2 separate regions of the Homo sapiens genome follow, and region 2 is linked to region 1. The links are contacts of gene promoters, found by promoter capture Hi-C in human tissues and cell types (Jung and others, 2019). All regions are on one chromosome and are shown on one strand. Each heading gives the region's core, a stretch centred on a gene start or on the middle of the fragment in contact. The rest is flanking DNA. Distances are from core to core; before and after follow the strand shown. Region 1 holds the start of FXN (frataxin). Region 2 has its middle 110 kb from the start of CFAP95.

What was found. The method cuts DNA at HindIII sites, captures the fragments that hold promoters and counts their contacts. A contact is called where the count stands out against the background at its distance.
Region 2: a fragment that was not itself captured here is called in contact with the fragment with the promoter of FXN in region 1 in 1 of the 25 tissues and cell types used here (dorsolateral prefrontal cortex).

What each region holds. Positions count from the first base shown.
Region 1 is chr9:69,033,852-69,037,511 of GRCh38, reverse strand. It overlaps FXN (frataxin), which reads right to left and starts at 1,760. Exons shown (of 5, transcript NM_000144.5): 1 at 1,565-1,760. The coding sequence starts at 1,729. RefSeq lists silencers at 525-819, 1,402-1,871 and an enhancer at 1,192-1,241. The HindIII fragment of the contact is 19,714 bases long and covers 1-3,660 here.
Region 2 is chr9:69,926,696-69,929,895 of GRCh38, reverse strand. No RefSeq gene overlaps it. Among named protein-coding and RNA genes, the nearest start is that of CFAP95, 110 kb to the right of the region's middle. The HindIII fragment of the contact is 3,339 bases long and covers 1-3,150 here.

The DNA of each region.
Region 1 (3,660 bases), core at 511-3,010:
GGGAAATCCATTTTATTTTTTATTTTTATTTATTATTATTATTTTTTGAGACGGAGTCTTGCTCTGTCGCCCAGGCCGGAGTGCATTGGGCGATCTTGGCTTAATGCAACCTCTGCCTCCCGGGCTCAAGCGATTCTCCTGCCGCAGCCTCTGGAGTAGCTGGGATTACAGGCGCGCGACACCACGCCCGGCTAACTTTTCTTTATTTTCTTCTTCTTCTTCTTCTTTTTTTTTTTTTTTTGTATTTTTTAGTAGATACTGGGTTTCACCATGTTGGCCAGGTTAGTCTTGAACTCCGGACCTCAGGTGATCCACCTTCCTAGGCCTCCCAAAGTGCTGAGATTATGGGCATGAGCCACCGCGTCCTGCCAGGAAATCCATTTTCTAAGTCCTAACTTTTAAGCACTGGCAACCAATCCCAAAGTTTCTTCAAACACAATGTGGGCCAAATAACACGTGTGGGAAGTTCAAGCCTAAAGTACAAACTCCGGAGAGCAACACAAATATGGCTTGGACGTGGCCTGCCTCTTTCATCTCCCCTAATACATGCGGCGTACCAGCCACTCTGAAGGGATCCCCTTCCGCCTTCCTGGCCTTTGCCCAGACGGTTCCCTCCTCGTGAAACACCCTCTACCACTTCCTTGGCATCTTCAAGACCCTCATTAAATACCATGTCCTCCCCTTGAGGAATCTTCCTCATCCCCACAGCCATTCTTTGGGTTTCCTCCTTTCAAGCCGTGGCGTAACTGGGTCAGATATTTCTTTGTACCCCCCAAAGGAAGAAAGGGGAACTAATTTGAAGTTCTGAAGACTTTATCTATGTTATTCCCATTTAATCCTCACACCAGGTCCGCAAAATGGGCGTCACCTTTATCTTCTCCCTACAGAAAACAAAGCCACGTCTCAGAGAGGTTAGGGGAATCCCCCAAGGTCACACAGCTCTGCGGAGTGGGGCAGAATCTGGAATAAAGGTCGGGTCAGTTTCCAAAAGCCAGGGCCCCTGCTGCTCTAGCTATTCTGCAGCTCTGAAAGTTTCACCTCGTTCCAGGAAAGCATTTCGTTCAAAAAAATCCAGCCTTGAAAATATTAGGTGTGCGCGCGCCCGTGCGCGCAAACACACACACACAACACACACGCTATATACAGATACACACAGACACACACATTATGTGTATGTATATACTAGCAGATACCATCTATTAATATTACTGAAACAAGTTATCGCAGAGAAGTGACAAGCATGGAGACAGCCGCACACCCCTCGGAACCGGTCCCCTCCACCAGCCTGCCCTGCCTTCGCCCGTGCCTTGACCCGCAGTCGCACCGCAGGACAAAATGTCCCCTTTTCCTTCGGAAAGCAGAAGCCAGTGTAAATGCAACCGGGAGAACCAGAGAAGGGAGTTGCAAGGCCGCTTCCGCCGGGCCGCCCTGAGAAGGAGCGGGGTGAGCTAGTCCAGCGCGCGTACCCGGAGCGACCCCGGCGTGCGCGGCGCCTCCCTGCGCAGGCGTGCGGCGTGCGGCCCGCGGCGTGCGGCCCGCGGCTGTTCCCGGCGCGGATACTTACTGCGCGGCGGGGCGTGCAGGTCGCATCGATGTCGGTGCGCAGGCCACGGCGGCCGCAGAGTGGGGCCAACTCTGCCGGCCGCGGGACCCGGGTGAGGGTCTGGGCCTGGGCTGGGCTGGGTGACGCCAGGAGGCCGGCTACTGCGCGGCGCCCGAGAGTCCACATGCTGCTCCGGGTCTGCCGCCCGCTCCGCCCTCCAGCGCTGGGTGCTGCGGCGACCCCTGGTGGCCACTGGCCGCAGGCACTCTTCTGTGGGGGAGCAGCTAGAGGTTAGACCTCAGGAAGAACTTCCCAGCTTAGCACTATTCGTGCATTTAACAAAAATGGAGAGCCTGCTTTGTGCAAAGCACGGAGTGCAACCAGGACCCCTGACCCAAGGGAGACTGCAGCCTGGTGGCCCGCCGCTTCTAAAATTCTAAACAGGAGGAACTTGGGAGCTGCTGTCTTGCTGGGAAGTGGGTGCATGCACAAATTGAGGCTGCTTGGCCGCCGGTATGGGTTTACAGCAGTTGGGTATGTGGGGCCAGGAGACGGATGCCTTGTGTAAATCTGTACTCTGCCCACTTCCTAGCTGTGTGACCAGAGGGCAAGTTAATTAACCTCTCTGTGCCTTGTTTATAAAATGCGTTTTATAAAAGTTCCTACTTCATAGGATTGTGGTAAGGATAAAATGAGTTAAGCCCTGTAAAGTTTTTTTTGGACAGGGCATGTTCCTGTTAAGTGCACAATAAATATTGTTAATAGATTTTATTGATTGATTGATTGATTGAGACGGAGTCTCGCTCTGTCGCCCAGGCTGGAGGGCAGTGGTGCGATCTCGGCTCACTGCAAGCTCTGCCTCCCGGTTTCACGCCATTCTCCTGCCTCAGCCTCCCGAGTAACTGGGACTACAGGCGCCCGCCACCATGCCTGGCTAATTTTTTGTATTTTTTTTTTTTTTTAGTAGAGACGGGTTTCACCGTGTTAGCCAGGATGGTCTCGATCTACTGACCTCGTGATCCACCCGCCTCATTTATTTGTTTGTTTGAGACAGAGTCTCACTCTGTTGCCCAGGCTGGAGTGCAGTGGTGTGGTCCTGGCTTACTGCAACTTCTCCCTCCCGGGCTCAAGCAGTCTTCCCATTTCAGCCTTCCAAGTAGCTGGGACTACAGGTGTGCACCACCACACCCAGCTAGTTTTTGTATTTTTTGTAGAAAGGGGGTTTCGCTATGTTGCCCAGGGTGGTCTTGAACTTCTAGGCTCAAACGATCTGCCCGCCTGGGCCTCACAAAGTGCTGAGACGACAGGCGTGAGCCACCGTGCCTTGCCTATTGTTGATAGATTTTAAAAGAGAATTTTATTTCTGTTACATATTACAAAGGGATGCAAATTGTGAAAGTTTTCTTCACATTTTATATATGCTTTAGAGGATGTCAAATGTGAGCCGAGTGTGGTAGTGCATGCCTGTGATCTCAGCTACTCAGGAGGCTGAGGCGGGAGGATCACTTGAGCCTGGGAGCTCAAGGCTGCAGTGAGCTATGATTGTGCCTGTGAATAGCCACAGCATTCCAGCCCGGCCATCATAGCAAGATACTGTCTTAAAAAAAAAGAAAATGTCAGTTGTGTACACTTTCCATGGCAGAGAAGATGGGAAGGTACTAAAGTTCTTCCAAAGCCACTTTGTGAATCGTGAAGAGAGACATGTTTACATACTTAGGATGCTAAATGACAAGTGTCAAGAGGAATGTAAACTAACAGGTGTGAGTGTTGAGTGGGAGATTTATATAGAGCTAGGGATGGGGGAATCAAGGAAGTATTCATGGAAGAAGTGGTGTTGGCACAGGGCCTTCAAAAATAGGGTGGAGGAGGTGGGATCTGATTGCCTATCAAAGAGGTGGTCCAGGGCATTCTGGATGAGAGACATCCTTCTGTGTTTAATTAATTCTAGGCAGCTGCTTAAATACTGTTATGTATATGCCAGGCCTGGAGAAATCATTTTCCCCCTGCAAAGTATCTGGAGATGCTTTTGATTGTCACAACAGGCAGCTGTGGGGTGGGTATGTTCTACTGGCATCTAGTAGGTAGAGGCCAGGGATGAAACATCCTGTGATGTGCAG
Region 2 (3,200 bases), core at 232-2,731, 890 kb before region 1:
ATTTCATCTTTTTGTTAACATAAATAACAGGGTAGCTTTAGGGGTGCTCACTCAAGAACCCAGTGGCCGCTGGCAGCCCATAGCCTTCCTATCAAAAGTTTTACACCCAATACCTGTAGATGGCCTCAATGTTTTCAATCTGTTGCAGCTACAGAAGTATTAGTTGAAGAAACCAGAAAATTAACCTTTGGGGGAAAATTAACTGTAAGCACACCCCACCAAGTTAGAGCTACTTTAAATAAAAAAGCAGGAAGGTGCTCACTGACTCCAGAATCTTGAAATACTGAAATTGAATCTTGAAAAATTAAAATATGAGGCTATTCTACTAGAAAAAAGATGAATTTAACCTTAACTACTGATAATTCACTCAACCCAGCAGGTTTCTTGACAGGAGACCCAAATCTAAAAAGAGAACACCTATGTTTAGATTTAATTGACTACCAAATGAAGGTCAGGCCAGATCTAGGAGAGACCCCTTTCAAAATGGGGCGATGCTTATTTATAGATGGTTCCTCCCAAGTAATTAAAGGAGAAAGGCATAATGGGTATTCAGTAATTGATAGAGAAACTCTTGAAGAAATAGAGTCAGGAAGGTTGCCCAATAGTTGATCTGCCCAAGTTTGTGAACCATTTGCCCTCAGCCAGGCTTTAAAACACTTACAGAACAAGGAAGAAACTATTTATACTGATTCTAAGTATGCCTTTGGAGTAGCACATACATTTGGAAAAATTTGGCCTGAGAAACCTCTTATTAATTTTAAAGGCCAAAATCTTGCCCATGAAGAGCTAATCATCCATGTTTTAAACAATCTCCAGTTGCCAGAAGAAATAGCCATTGTACATGTCCCCAGACACTAAAAAGACTTTTCCTTTACAAGTTGGGGAAATAACCTTGCAAATCAAGCAGCTAAGCAGGCTGCTGTTTCATCTGAAACACCTATCTTTCACTTAACTCCTTGTCTTCCTCCCCCTGCTGCAACCTCTATCTTCTCTGCTGCAGAAAAGGAAAAATTAATAAGAATAGGAGCCAAAGAAAACTCAGAAGGAAAATGGGTGTTACCAGATCAATGAGAAATACTATCCAAACTCGTCATGAAGGAAATCCTGTCCCATCTGCATCAAGGGACCCACTGGGGACCCCAAGCTATGTGTGATGCAGTTCTCAGGGTTTATGGGTGTTCAGGAACTTATACTGTAGCCAAACAGATTAAAGATAGTTGCTTCATATGTAAAAAAAAAAAACCCAACAAACAAGTTACAAAGAAATCGCCCCTTGCGGGGAGGGATCCAGGGCTAAGACCATTCCAAAGTGTTCAAATTGACTACACTGAAATGCCCCCAATCGGTCGCCTAAAGTACTTATTAGTAACAGCAGATCACCTTACTCATTGAGTTGAAGCTATTCCCTTTTCAAATGCAATGGCCAATAATGTAGTTAAAGCATTAACTGAAAAGATAGTGCCCAGGTTTGGACCAATAGAAAATATTGATTCAGACAATGGAACCCATTTCATAGCACATATCATTAAAAAGCTATCCCAAGCCCTAGACATTAGATGGGAATATCATACTCCTTGGCACCCACCTTCCTCAAGAAGAATAGAAAGGATGAATTAGACCTTAAAGAACCACATAACCAAATTAGTTCTAGAGACTCAGTTGCCATGGACCAAATGTCTTCTTATTGCCTTTTAAGAATCTGAGCTGCTCCTTGGAAAGATATTGGCCTTTCTCCTTATGAGATGCTCTAATTGCCTTATTTACACTCCACTGCTGGCATTCCTACATTTGAAACAAAAGATCAATTCCTCAGGAATTATATACTTGGTCTCTCCTCTACTTTCTCTTTTTTTAAAAACCAAAGGTCTCCTAGCACAGGCGCCGCCCCTGGAGTTCCCAGTACATCAACATCAGCCTGGGGATCATGTCCTCATCAAAAGCTAGAAAGAAGAAAAACTTGAGCTGTCCTGGGAAGGACTTCACCTAAGTGCTTCTAACCACTGGAACCACAGTCCTGATAGCAGAAAAAGGATGGACCCATCACACCTGAGTCAAGAAAGCACCACCACCTCCGCAGTCATGGGCCATTGTCCCAGGGGAAAACCCCCTCAAACTAAAGCTAAGTTTAACTCTCTTTCATCTATTCTATTACTCTTTCTTCTTTTCTCATTCTATTGCTGACCACCTTGTTATCAATGTAACTAAATCAAACTCCCCCAAAGTTATTACGTTTGATGCTTGTTTAGTCATACCCTGTAGAGATCTTCAAAGTCAAAGGAAACTCTTAGCCTTAGAAAAGTATCTCTGCCCCTTTAAAATAGAGGTTCCCCCTACCAAGACTCTTGCTCTTTAACAAATATAGAGAAACAGGTCTGCCATAGCAGGAATGATGTTCTGTGGACAACCAAATATCAAGGCTAGACCTCATTGACAGGTGGTTGTGTATCCTTAAAACCATACATTCACTTTACTAAAGAAAGCACCTCCAACCCCAATTGCCAGTATAACCAATGTAATCCAGTGCAAATTTCAATTCTCACTTCCACCTCTACCGACCCTAGACCTACTTTGAGCCGCTTCTACAGCATGGGAGCCAACTTGGCTGGCACAGACCTCATAGGGACTTTTGAAATGCATTTTATTAATCCCTCATCCTCTTCACCCCCTTTCCTCTCTTCTCCTTCTAAGCCTTCTTCTAATCAAACTGCTATCCCCTCTATACCCAATGATAAGACTAAGGTAGATATTGTAGAAGTAAATGATTTAAGGCAAACTTTAGCAATTGAAACAGGATATCAAGATGCAAATTCCTGGTTGGAATGGATCAAATATTCTGTCCACATGTTAAACAAAAGCAATTGTTATGCTTGTGTGCACGGCCAGCCAGAGGCCCAGATTGTCCTCTTTCCACTTGGATGGTCCGCTAGTCAACCAGGCATGGGCTGCATGATAGCTCTCTTCCAGGATTCTACAGCTTGGGACAATAAATAATGCCAAGCTCTCTTTCTGCTCTATCCTGAAATCCAACACCCTGCGGGTCAGCCCCCGAAGGCCATCCAGCTTCCATCTCCCAACGTCAATTTCACCTTGTGTCTCTCACAACAAGGGGAAAACTTGGCATTCCTTGGAAGCTTAACAGGATGCAGTGAGCTTAAGCCCTTCTAGAAGCTTACCCATCAGTCTGCCCTTAGCCATCCTCG